2 separate regions of the Homo sapiens genome follow, and region 2 is linked to region 1. The links are contacts of gene promoters, found by promoter capture Hi-C in blood cells and fetal thymus (Javierre and others, 2016). All regions are on one chromosome and are shown on one strand. Each heading gives the region's core, a stretch centred on a gene start or on the middle of the fragment in contact. The rest is flanking DNA. Distances are from core to core; before and after follow the strand shown.

What was found. Contacts are between HindIII fragments. The CHiCAGO score rates a contact against its expected background, and 5 or more counts as called.
Region 2: a contact is called between a fragment that was not itself captured here and the fragment with the promoter of AIG1 in region 1, in 1 of 17 cell types (activated CD4 T cells). The highest score is 6.7, in activated CD4 T cells.

The regions. Positions count from the first base shown.
Region 1 is chr6:143,059,394-143,062,391 of GRCh38, forward strand. AIG1 (androgen induced 1) reads left to right here and starts at 1,496. Exons shown (of 6, transcript NM_016108.4): 1 at 1,496-1,673. The coding sequence starts at 1,533. RefSeq lists enhancers at 492-1,430, 1,256-1,385, 1,986-2,035 and silencers at 1,386-1,475, 1,726-1,795. The HindIII fragment of the contact is 5,617 bases long and covers 1-2,998 here.
Region 2 is chr6:142,470,445-142,473,442 of GRCh38, forward strand. No RefSeq gene overlaps it. Among named protein-coding and RNA genes, the nearest start is that of ADGRG6, 170 kb to the left of the region's middle. The HindIII fragment of the contact is 2,217 bases long and covers 451-2,667 here.

The DNA.
Region 1 (2,998 bases), core at 246-2,745:
CCAGACACATTATTAAGGTAGGTAGATCTTCAATAGATCTACTCTTTTTTATTTTTATTTTTTTGGCAGTTTATAACCATGTACCAAGGATGCACAATTAAAAAAATAAAGCCAACTTTTACATTAAGATTTAACCAAAAATCATCAATAATACATCGTTTTAATGCTAGTAGAATCTTCTTCTGACATCAGTTCTATTAGCATAATTATAATGCCAATTAAAAAAATCTAGTGGGTCTCTTCATTTTAGTTTAGAGCTTGATTGGAAACATTCAGGAAAACATCCATGGCTTGCTTGCTACTTTCTCTTTACCTCTAGCACTATGCTTCTCCCCACCAGCCCTCCCTCCACATCCTCTGACTCAGAGACTATTTGAAGAGGACACCTGTTTTAAATGGATCCACAGGAAATACCTATGTTGCCTTTTCATAATCCGAACCTGCAACTGGTTGGCTGAAATGAAAATGTTGCCCACAGACTGATGCAACTTCAGTGTGACAACATTTACTGGAAGGCAGGAGGGACTCCAGTTTATATTTATTTTCCTTCCATTAAGCCCTGGTAGTGTAGTGTAAGAAAAAAGTAAGGGCAAAACCAGTTTAACAACCAGATGATTAGTATTAAATTACACGCAGGGGTTTTACATCCAAAATTGGAATTTTTTAAAGCTGAATGCAATCTTGTGGCAGAAAGTTATTTGAAAATCCTTTCTTTATAGCTTTTTATCTATAAACCTCTTGTCCAAAGTTCATATTCTAGCTGATGTTATATACTGATATGACATTATTCAATCTGTCATGGAAAAGTGCTGCGTAGCCTACCCATTGAAAGCAGAATTGAGAGAGTTTCCTAGTGATTGACAGTCGTTTGTCAACACTGAAAACCTTATTGCCCCAAAATACTGAAAGTCACTCGCGGCTGCCTGTGCTCGGGTTTACACCCCACGTTCACACCCCCACCGGATCCCTCCGCACGGGGCACCAGCTCTCGGCCAACTGCAACTACCCCAGGAAGCGTCACCGCGATTCCGGGGCGGGAACATTTGTGGACACTGGGGTCCACTCCTTCAGTCTAGGTTCCCCGCCCCCTCGCCCGGCCCGGCGCCCACTAGCCACAGGGCCCGCTTCCCCCTGGAGATCAGCGCGCACTTCCCGAGCCCTCGTAGCACTCAGAGGTCGCATCCACACCTGGGATGCCTAGGGGGCGCCTCCTGGCCGGGTGTCCCGGGACCCTGCGAACGCAGGAGCAGAATGACGAAGGTGACGAAAGAGATGACGACACGCCGCCTGCCAGGCCGCGGCCGGCAGTGGAGAGCGTCCGCAAACCGCGCCCGGCCAGTACAGGTCACCCGGGCGCTCGCGGCCGCGCCAGTCCCCGGGGGCGCGCGCCCCGCCCCCGCCCCCGCCCCCGCCCCGCCCCGCCCCGCGCCCGCGCCCGCGCCCGGGTTCCCACGGCGCCCGCCCCCGCGCGCCCGGCGCCTCCCTCACGCCCGCCCTCCTTGCCGCCCAGCCGGTCCAGGCCTCTGGCGAACATGGCGCTTGTCCCCTGCCAGGTGCTGCGGATGGCAATCCTGCTGTCTTACTGCTCTATCCTGTGTAACTACAAGGCCATCGAAATGCCCTCACACCAGACCTACGGAGGGAGCTGGAAATTCCTGACGTTCATTGATCTGGTAAGGCCGTCCCCTCCCCCTGCTCGCCCCGCACCCCGTGCCTGTGTGTGCGTGTGTGTGTGTGTGTGTGTGTGTGTGTGTGGATGCGCGAGCACCTGCGCACGTGCGCGCCTCCAGCATCCACCCGTGTCCTCGCCTCTTCCCCAGTGATTGCGTGTGAAGGCCTGGCTGCCCCCGCAGCGGCACCTTCTGAACCACTCACCGTTACCTGGTAGCTGGGTACCCTTACCTGGCAACTGGGGGACAAATGGAGGTGGGGCGCAGCCAGGTGGTGGGCTCTTTGGAGGGGGACACCGAACTGCTTCTAAGAGGTGACACGGGAAGAATCTTCAACAAAAGCATCGGACCTGATCCTGAATGGCCTGAGACCCATTCGCCCTCAAGGTGCTTTTCAGAGCACCCACCGTGGGATGAACTTGTTGCAACTGAAGGAAACTGGGTATTGTCTAGTGATTTGGAACTTCACCTGAAAGAACCAAATCCTTCTCATAAGGGAGAGAAAGCACCTAATAAAGTTGTCTTCTTTGCATCTGTTTTTTTCCCCCATTGTCAATAATTTACTTTCAACCTTTACCCCGTACATATTAGGAGACAGAGATGTTCAAAGTGCATTTCCAAGGTGACTGTACACACTTCTCTGTCTTCCCATGTACAAATTTACAGTAGTTTGCATAAGCAGCTCCTCTGTTGGCACAATATGATAATCTTGACAGGTGCAGGTTATTATTAGTATATCATTTTGAAAGTTTTTCTATTTCTGGCACTAAAAGGCCCTCTTCAACCTCCCTGGAGAACAGAACATGGGCATAAGGCCCAATAATGAACTCATGGATGGACCTAGGAATTTCAGGGTAAAGGTGACTAAGACACACGCTAAAAGATTATTAGGAAGAGGCTTAAAACAAAAGCAATGAAGTTCTAAAGCACTCAGAGAAATTGTAGAACCAATTCCTGGGACTCCCTGAACTGTTTATCCAAGACTATACAGTTGGTTGGCTACACCAGCAAGATTATAATCTCTTGTTGACCCTCCATTCTGATGAAGAGAACATGATACCTGTTTTAAAAATTTCCAAAGGCTTAGGATGCCTCAAAGAAATGCAGAGAGGCTTTTGGTTTAAAAATAACACCTTATATTTGCATTATATTAGATACTTTCAGAGTGGAATTTCAATTCTGTTGCCCAGCAGTCTCCAAACTGTGCACATACCCTTAGGCCCACAAGACTTCACAGGGTATAGAATGTTGCAAGGGTTTTAATTTTCAGATCCTCATCTTCCAACTCTGCTTGAAACTAATTTCCCTCTGAACATGCGTGATGCCTG
Region 2 (2,998 bases), core at 309-2,808, 590 kb before region 1:
CCTGCAGTTCTGCATGTGAATTCTAGCAAGCAGTTATCTTGCCTAAGCATTTATTATCTTTTCCTCATTCTATATTTTGTGACAAACTTCAATTCTCCAAGCAGCAGCTATTCCTAAAGGATGTTGGGTAGTTCACAGTGATGTTTCCGGGTTTGAATCTTATCTCTGCTGATCACCTGTTGGGTGAAGTTTAAGTTACTCTACACTTCAGTTTGACATTTCAGTTTGACCACATGTTAGATAAAATAATACAGAGTGGCAAACCAATAAATAGTGACTATATGTGTGTATATTTGTTTTATATAAATATATATATATATTTAATTGCAATAAGAATACTTAACAAGAGATCTACCCTCAACAAATTTTTAGGTATACAATACATAATTGTTGACCACAGGTACTGTGTTGTACAGCAGATCTTTAGAGCTTATGCATCTTGCTGACTGAAGCTTTACTAACTGCCCATTTCCCTCTCCCCATATCTCCCAGAAAACATCATTTGATTCTATGAATTTTACTATTTTAGATAATTCAGATAAGTAGAATCATGCACTATTTGTCTTTCTGTGACTGGCTTATTTCACTTAGCATAATGTCCTCAAGGTTCCTCCATGTTTTCTCATATTGCAGAATTTCCTTTTTTTAAAGGGTGAATAGTATTGCATTGTATGAACATGCATTTTCTTTATACATTCATCTGCCAATGAATATTTACATTGTTTCCACATTTTTGCTATTGTGAATAATGTTGCAATGAATATGGAAGTGGAAACATCTCCTCAAGATCCTGATTTCCATTCTTTTGGATAGAAACCCAGGAGTGGAATTGCTAGATCAAATGGCACTTCTATTTTTAATTCTTTGAGGAACCTCCATAACGTTTCCCATGGTGACTGCACCGTTTTATATTCCCACCAACAGTGTGTGTTTCAATTTCTCCACATCCTTACCAACACTTATTGTCTTTTGGTTTTTAGGTTGTTATAATAGCGATCTTCACAGTTCTGAGCTGATACCTCATTGTAGTTTTGATTAGCATTTCCCTGATGATTAGAGATGGTGAGCATTTTTTTTCCATATAACTGTTGGCTGTATTTATGTCTTTTTTGGCGAAATATCTATTCAAGTTTTTAGCTCAGTTTGAATTGGGTTATTAGTTTTTTCACTCTTGAGTTATAGAAGTTTCTTATATATTTTGGAGATTAAACCCTTATCAGATAAATGGTTTACAAATATTTTATCCCATTTTGTAGGTTGCCTTTTCACTCTGTTGATTGCTTCCTTTGCTGGGTAGGAGCTTTTTAGTTTAATGTAGTTCCACTTGTTAATTTTTGCTTTTGTTGCCTGTGGTTTTGTTGTCATATCCATGAAATCATTGTCAAGATTAAAGTCTTAGCCAGAGCAATTAGGCAAGAAAAAAATAAAAAGGCATCAACATCAGCAACAAAGAAGTAAAAGTGCCCTGGTTTGCAAATGACATGATCTTATATAGAGAAAACCTTGAGGACTCCATAAAAAACTGTCTAATAAATGAATTCAATAAGTTGCAGTATACAAAATCAACATACAAATATCTGACCACGTGCAGTGGCTCATGCCTGTAATCCCAGCACTTTGGGAGGCTGAAGCGGGAGGATCCCTTGAGGCCAGGAGTTCAAGACCAGCCTGGGCCACAAAGCAAAACCCTTTCTCTACAAAATAAACATAAAATATTAGCCAGGCATGGTGACACAGGCCTATAGTCCCAGCTACTCAGGAGGCTGAGGCAAGAGGATTGATGGAGCTTAGGAGTTTGAGGCTGCAGTGAGCTTTGATTGTGCCACTGCACTGAAGCCTTGGCAACAGAGTGAGACCCTGTTTCTAAAAATATAAATAAAAATTAAAAATAAAAAAAAATTAAAAATTATCCTTCCAGTAAGAAATAGCTTATGGTAGAAGAAAAAAAATCAGTTGCTTTTCTGTACATTAACAATGAACCATCTGAAAAGGAAATTACAAAAACAATCCATTTTCATTATCACCAAAAAGAATAAATATCTAGGAATAAACTTAGCTGAGGAGATGAAATGGATGTATACTGAAAACTATAGAACATGAATGAAAGAAGCTAAGACACAAACAAATGGAAAGACAGCCTGCATTAGAAGAGCTACTATTATTGTTAAAATGTCCATACTACCCAAAGCAATCTACCAACTCAGTGTAATCCCTAACAAAATCTAAATGGCATTTTTATAGCAATAGAAAATACAATTTTAAAATTCATGTAGAGCCATAAAAGACCATGAATAGCCAAATCAATCTTGAGAAAGGACAAAACTGGAGGCATCACATTTCCTGATTTCAAAATACAAATCTAGAGTAATCAAAACATTATGGTACTGACATAAAGACGGACATACAGATGAACAAAACAGAATAGAGAACCCAGAAATACACCCACACACCATGGTCAGCTGATCTTCACAAGCATTCCAAGAACATACAACAGGAGAAGGATAGTCTCTTCAACAAATGGAAATTGGAAAACTGGATATCCACATGCAATCAACTGAAATTAAACCCTTATCTTAAACCATACATAAAAATTAACTAAAAATAGATTAAAGGCTTAAAACATAAGACATGAATTTTTAAAACTCCTAGAAGAAAACATAAAGGAAAAGCTTCATGACTTTGTCGTTATATTGACTTAACATATGTAGTCATAACAGTGAAGTTGAATTTTCAGAAACTTCACGCTGAAGCTATCATTGATGTGATTCATTTCAATTTACCCTGGTTTTTTAAGCATCTACTATATGCAATGATCTGGGCACTGCAGGGGATCCACTGCGGAATAGAATCAACCCCACACCTTAATAATGTCATGGTCTAGTGGTGAAAGCAGGTAATGACAATACAAGGTGATTAGAACCATAATATCAAGGAGCTTTGGATATGATATTTGATGGTATTAAGGCATTATTAATTTTGTGATGTGTGATAATAGCAT